2 separate regions of the Homo sapiens genome follow, and region 1 is linked to region 2. The links are contacts of gene promoters, found by promoter capture Hi-C in human tissues and cell types (Jung and others, 2019). All regions are on one chromosome and are shown on one strand. Each heading gives the region's core, a stretch centred on a gene start or on the middle of the fragment in contact. The rest is flanking DNA. Distances are from core to core; before and after follow the strand shown.

What was found. Contacts are between HindIII fragments. The study calls those that stand out against the background at their distance.
Region 1: a contact is called between a fragment that was not itself captured here and the fragment with the promoter of SULT4A1 in region 2, in 2 of the 25 tissues and cell types used here (dorsolateral prefrontal cortex and hippocampus).

What each region holds. Positions count from the first base shown.
Region 1 is chr22:43,743,476-43,747,134 of GRCh38, forward strand. The region is part of intron 6 of EFCAB6 (EF-hand calcium binding domain 6); the gene reads right to left. Among named protein-coding and RNA genes, the nearest start is that of EFCAB6, 67 kb to the right of the region's middle. The HindIII fragment of the contact is 4,866 bases long and covers 1-3,659 here.
Region 2 is chr22:43,860,975-43,864,349 of GRCh38, forward strand. It overlaps SULT4A1 (sulfotransferase family 4A member 1), which reads right to left and starts at 1,539. Exons shown (of 7, transcript NM_014351.4): 1 at 1,240-1,539. The coding sequence starts at 1,408. The HindIII fragment of the contact is 9,350 bases long and covers 1-3,375 here.

The DNA.
Region 1 (3,659 bases), core at 1,085-3,584, 120 kb before region 2:
AGCCTGATTCCTCTAACTTCAGCTTCCTTGCCTGTGAAATGAGAATGAATAAGGATATAGGTGTGTGGTGTGTGCTTAAGATGAAAGGAGCTCATGTGTGCAGGTGCTTCACACACGGAACACGTTCAATAAATGGTGGTGAAATGAGAATTGCTGACTGGGATCAAAGGCTAAGAATAGAGATCCAAATAACCACACACCCATGTCAGGGAATATTAAGCGGCTGAAACGGCATTACTCTCCCCAACCCCAGTCCCTCCTTCACCCCTCACCCTCCACAGCACCATTGCCCAGACTAAGAAAACAGAAGCCTAGAGATGGAGGAAGGTCTTGAATAGGCATGAGTCCAGAGCCAAGACTAGGGCCTGGATCAATGAATAACTGTTAAGTGGATGGATGGATGGGTGGGTGAGTGGATGGATGGATGGGTGGGTGGGTGGATGAATGGATGGATGATGAATGAATGGGACAGATGGGTGAACGGATGGGTGGGTGGATGATGGATAGATAGGTAAATGGATGAATGAATGGATGAAGGGATGAATGATGAATGAATGAATGAATGAATGGGTTATGGATGCATGGATGGATGAACGGATGAATGGATGAATGATGAATGAATGAATGAATGAATGAATGGATGGGTTATGGATGGATGGATGGGTAGATGGATGGATGGATGATGGATAGATGGGTAGATGGATGAATGGATGGATGATGAATGAATGGATGGAAGGGCTATGGACAGATGGATGTGGGGATGGATGATGAAGGATGGATGGGTGGATGGATGAGTGGGTGGGTAGGTGGGGAGATTGCAAGCCAAGACAATCCTTGTAGAGACAGGACAGGAACCTGCAAAAAGGGTAGACAAGCATCTCATTTCCCAGTGGATTCAGTGATCTGCTCTGCACCTACCTGGGAAGAGGAACTGAGACTCAGACAGACACAGCAGAGCAAGGCAGAAGCAGCAGATGAAAGCAGCCTGAACACCTATTTTGGTATGGACGGGACTTGTGAATTTTCCATGGGTTAAGAGGACACCATGACAGGTAGAAATCTTGAGCTGTCCTGTTCCCAAGGGACTGCTCATCAGGGAAGGGGACCCAAGCAGCCAAAGGAAGTGAGCTGGACCACCAGGAGTGGGAGCTGAGGGGGTCCAGAGGGGGCTAAGTCAGGGCTGATCTTCCTCAACAGGAAACCATGAAGTTCAGAGGCCCCCAAAGCACTGTCCTAATTACTCCCCACGGACCCTATAGGAGAGCTTCCCAGAGAGGACCCAGATAAGGGAGAGAGAGACATGCTCTCCTTCCCCAGCCCTCATCACAGACCCCATGATCTGGGGGAGAGAGGAAGCAGAAAGAAGGAGGGAGGTACAGCCAGTGAGCAGGCCCTACCCACTCCAGGGCCCTCGGGCTTGGAGGAGCTGAGAAGGGCGTGCTGAACCAGCCCCACACTTGAGGTTTAAACTGAACTCGCCTGCACTGGACCTGTTTAGACCTAAATGTGACCAGAGAGCCACCAGATCTGCTGAAGATATTCCTATGGGACAAGAGAGGGAGATTCAGCAGCTCCTGTTGGAGAAAACTGAGAGCTAAGAAATCAAACTGCTTCATATTTGTACCCCACTGAGTTCAGATGGTTCCATAAACTGCTAACCATGGATGCTATTATTACTCCAGAGTTCTTTGTTTAAAATTCTTTTTATAGCACTTTGAGCTCCAGGAAGGAAAACTGTGAACTCAAATAAATCTGACCACCCAGGCTTTAAAGAAGATGAGAAAAGGCTGAATGTTTCCCCTCTGAAGCCCAGAATTCCCACTCCGCCTGGAAAACAATCCCTCTGGAGGCCTGGCACTAACGTGGCCCTTCCCGGAGGCAGGCCAAGCTTCTTCATGCCACAGCATAACCCGCAGACGAACTTAAACCTTCTACAATTTCATTCTTATTGGCTTCCGTGTAGCTGTTTTCTGTGCAGCTCCTCACCCGGAGCCACTTTTTCTCACCTGGCTTCTAAGAGAAGGGGGTCAGGAACCGCATCCCACCCGCCTGCCTGTAGACTGAGACTGAGTCCCAAGGGGAGGGGGCTTCGGGCACCCCCATGTCTTGGCTCAGCAGCAAGCGGAAGAGTTCAACACCCACGGCTGTCAGTCTGGCACCTTTCTGTCTCCACCACTAAATTCATTTTAAATTTAAGAAGTACAGATTTGAAATGAAACCATGAAAAAGGATTTCTCTTACAATAAACACATCAATGCTCATTTTCCTTATTATTCTACTTTTGGCTATTTTGTATAAAATCTTTAATTAAAGTTTTTCTTTGAAATTGTCATTATCAACCCAGAAGAAAGGAAGGGGGAAAAAAGAACAACACAGCTGTGCAGATATGAAGCACTATTCAGGACTAAATGAACTGGAACGAAATAAGTAGCTTGACTGTTATGTTCTTAGTTTTGGCTCTGTATTCTCAATAGCACAGTCTAACTTGTCACTTTATATCGATTCCATCTGTTTACACTCTGCAGAGTATTGGCTTCCTACCGTGAACATTTCCTATTTACCAGCTGGTAGAGATGCGCCAAACCAGATAGGAAAAAATTAGACTACATTCAGAACCTCATAAACACAAACTTCCAATCCGGGGACAAGCGGGAAGCGGGGGCCGGGCATCGCTCACCTTTCACAAAAGCCTCGCCTCCCTGCCTCTGGGCTGATGCTCTCATTGCTCTGGCAGTTGCCCTCGCAGGCCAAGGACTACAAATTTCTTTACTGACCATAGGCATACCCTGCCTTTACCAAAAATCGAAAAAGCTTACTGAAAAAGATATCCAAATAAGATCCACAAAAATGGAGAAAAGAAAGCTGACCCCGAAAAAATGAGCTAAAGAAACCTAAAAGTCATAGTTGACACAATGAAGCAAAACTCTGGTTCGGGGTCTCCTTGCAGCCAAGATGAAGAGGGAAACTCGTGCTTATATAAAGTCCACAGGCCATGTAAACCTTCCCCCACATTCAATTTTTCATTTTTAAAATGCTTACCTGTAACGTATAGCTTATAGACTTCTTTTAAGAAACTCTAGCTACCCATTGAGCTTACGATACAGCTATGAAAAGGTGCCCCGTCTATAAGCTGAGGGACTTACAAGGGTGCCAGGCTGGGTGCGGTGGCTCATGCCTGTAACCCCAGCACTGTGGGAGGCTGAGGCAAGAGGACTGCTTGAGGCTAGGAGTTCAAGACTAGCCTGGGCAATATAGTAAGACCCCATCTCTACAAAAAATTAGAAATTAAAATTTTAAAAAGGGCTGCTGATCTATAAGAAATCTTTCCTTTCTTTCCTTTCTTTCTTACCCAGCCCACACTCATAGGATGGGTACTCCACCTCAGCTGCCACGGGCCAAGAATCTTGGGGCCCCTAAGAGCCCTGGCCTCAGCTCACTCACAGGACAGAGCTGCACACCAGCAGGGGCAAGCCTGGAAGATCAGAAGCCACTATGCTGACCCAGCATCCTGCTGCTTATCTGGACCTCATGCAAGAGGATGCTGCTTTGAGAAAGACAAACCGCAGAAGACTGTTCAGGTTACGTGAAAAGTTTCCCAGGCTGGGCCAATGCTGGGTACTGCCAAGTGGCTGTAGCACTTTGCCAAGAGCCTAGCCAGC
Region 2 (3,375 bases), core at 289-2,788:
AAGAGTCCCTCACAGATTAACAGCGATAGAGCACTTGGCCCGCAGGACTTAATGAGTGGCCACAGAAGCCAACGACACGCTTAGCCATTCCTAAAGCATTTTAGGTCCCACCCCATGCGGCGACTGGCATGTGCTCAAGATAGCAGCCCATCGAACGCTCTGTTCTCCAACCAACACCCTCCACTGAGAGTCCCTACTCCAATCTTCCTCAGAAGAATGTCAGAGACCTGCCCTCAGGTGTCTGGAACTCCATACAGCTACAACAGCCAAGCCTACAGCTTTTCCTGAAACTGCCCGACTGCTGGTCCGGCGTGACCTTAGAGCCAGACACCTTCTAAACCACGCTGTGATTGCCTCAAATACAGTGGCAACAAGGAAATCCCAGGGCATGTTTACAGAACAGGAAAGCTGCTACCTCCTTTCCCTAAAAACCTCAGATGGGGTACTATACAATCTCCTACCTCAGGTCTGGAAACAGACCAGCCTAGCTTTAATTCCCAGGTCAGCCACTCACCAGCTGAGTGACCTTGGACCAGCCTCTTCCCCTCTCTGAGCCTCTGTGCCTAGACTGTAAAGTGGGAATGACCACCACTAGCTCACACAGCTGTTATTGTGAAAGTGACGTCAGCTAATGCTGGGAAATGTGAATGCCCCAGGTCCTGCCTCGGTGATGGAGGCAGCCCTGAAACAAGAGAATGTACAAGCAAGGCACTCCAGGCGGGGACTGGTCCCATCCCCCACCCGGAGCCCAGGCTGGAAAGGAGGGACGTTACGTTTCCACGCTGAAAGCCCTGACGCCCATGTTATCTCCCTTCCCAGGTGAACACCAGGACTTTGCACTCATCAAAGGTTGGGCAGGATTCAGGAACAGAGAGGTTGAGTGACCTGTCCAAGGTCACACAGCCAGCCAGGTAAAGGGAGAAGCAGGGATGGGTGGCGGCCCTGGGCCCATCCTCCTGCAGCGCCGGCCAAATAGGCTCCATCTCCACGGAAGGGGCCGCTCCCGAAGGTCTCTGACCTTGGTTTCCCCAGATGAGAACCAAGCCCCTTCCCACCCCCACCCCACCCCACCCCGCCCCGCAGGGATCCGAGCATCGGGAGAGCGGTGGGCACGGCAGGGGCGGAGGCCAAGGGCGACCACCCGGCCCAGCAGAAGCCCCGGGCGCGGGCGCGGCGTCTACGCGGCCGCGCTGCAGGGCTGGGGCATGGCGTGGCGGGCGCGGTCGGCGCGGGGCTCACCGGACTTGGGGTAGGTGACGATCCACACGTCGCTGGGCCGCACCGGGAAGTTGGCGATCTCCTCCATCTTCCCGCGGCAGAAGGGCGGCAGCCGCACGCCATGGAACTCGAAGTACTTGCTCTCGAACTCCCCCGGGGTGCTGGGGGTCTCGGCCTCGCTCTCCGCCATGCCGCCGCCGTCGCCGTCGCCGCCGCCGCCTCCCGGCTCGCAGCCCGCACGCGCCCGCGCCCGCGCCCGCGCCCGCGCCCCGCACACGCTCGCGCCCCACCGGCGCGCGGCGGCAGCTCCGCAGGCGTGACGTCATGGCGCCGCCGACGCGCGGCGGAGGCTCCGCGGGTATGACGTCATGGCGCCGCCCGGCACGCGGCCGCGGCGCTGCACGGGCGTGACGTCATGGCGCCGCGGAGCCGCGTCCTCCCCGCCCCGCCCCCGGCCGGGGTCACCCACCCGCTGCCGGGGCTGACAGAGACCCTGGCCCGCGGTCTGCAGCCTCCTCAGTCGTGCGTGCGTTCATTCCGCTCATAGCTTCTGTCACTCAGCAAGCGCTCAACACAGACGCATGAGATACCCTGGCTGGAAGGCCCTGAAAGGTAGTCGTCCATTCAACACGTGCTTAGCGCGCTGCTGATCTGTGCCAGGCACTGGGCCAGGGCCCCGACACGCGTCAGGGTAGAAGCAAGCAGAAGCCTGGCCCTGTTGGAGCTTACATTGGTAAATAACCAAGATAATTTCAGGTAAATATTAGGTCCTATTAAAAATATGCGTCTTCGCCAGGCGCGGTGGATCACGCCTGTAATCTCAGCACTTTGAGAGGTCGAGCACGGGCGGATCTCCTGAGGTCAAGAGTTCGAGACCAACCTGGGTAAATGGTGAAACCGCATCTCTACAAACATACAAAAAAAAAAATTAGCAGTGAGCTGTGAGCTTGCACCACTGCACTCCAGTCTGGGCAACAGGACGAGATCTTCTAACAACAACAAAAAAAAAGTATGGGCCACCTAGTCCAGCCAAAAAAACAAAGTGCTTTTTTTTTGCTTTTTTTTTTTTTTTTTTTTTTTTGAGATGGAGTCTCGCTGTGTCGCCCAGGCTGGAGTGCAGGGGCGCGATCTCAGCTCACTGCAAGCTCCACCTCCCGGGTTTACGCCATTCTCCTGGCTCAGCCTCCCGAGTAGCTGGGACTACAGGCACATGCCACCATGCCTGGCTAATTTTTTGTATTTTTTGTTTGTTTGTTTTAGTAGAGACGGGGTTTCATCGTGTTAGCCAGGATGGTCTCAATCTCCTGACCTCGTGATCTGCCCACCTTGGCCTCCCAAAGTGCTGGGATTACAGGTGTGAACCACCTCGCCCAGCCAAAAAGTGCTTCTTAATATCCCATGAGTAGGGGAGGGGAGTGTTGGATTGCAAATTCCAGGACCCCAGATCTATGGAGAAAAATTACAAAAATATACATTTAGTAAGGCACTTCTTGTGCAAACTATAATTTGAGAGCAACCGAGTTCTAGAGATCTCAGTGCAACCCCTTGCCAGTCATGCACTCAACAGACATATATGAAGCACCTACTAACATGCCTGGGGAAGCACAAAGATGAAAACAACACAGCCTGCTCTCATTCTCTGCAGCCGAGCATCATCAGCTGTGTAAAGGAAAAGAATGATTCCTACCTCTAAGTAGTGTAGCCAGGAAGATGGAAGGAGTTTACACCAACAAGAATCTGGAGCAGAGTGGCTGGACGGGACCTATTCCTACTCTCTCCTTCTTACTGTAGAGTGAGACACGTGCATTCTGACACCAAAGACATACACATGGGCTGAGAAGCGCAGGCCATGTGTACATAGCAGACAGAGAGAGGAAACAGCAATTAATCCTGACTTGGGAAGCTTGTAGATGTCTTTCCAAAAAAGAAAGAGGACATTCCGAGCACCCAGCCTTTATTCAGAATAATTAGGCCAATGGCAAAAGGGCATCTAGCCAAAAGCTAGAGGGATTGAGTGAATGAATGAATATCCTGATGTTTCAGGTGAGGGTTCTCACTGTGGGAGAAGGAAAATGTAAGTGGGGAATGCGAGAAGGCAGGGAAGAACTCTATGGTATTGGATTGGAATTGGAGGTATTGACATGAGTTTATGATATT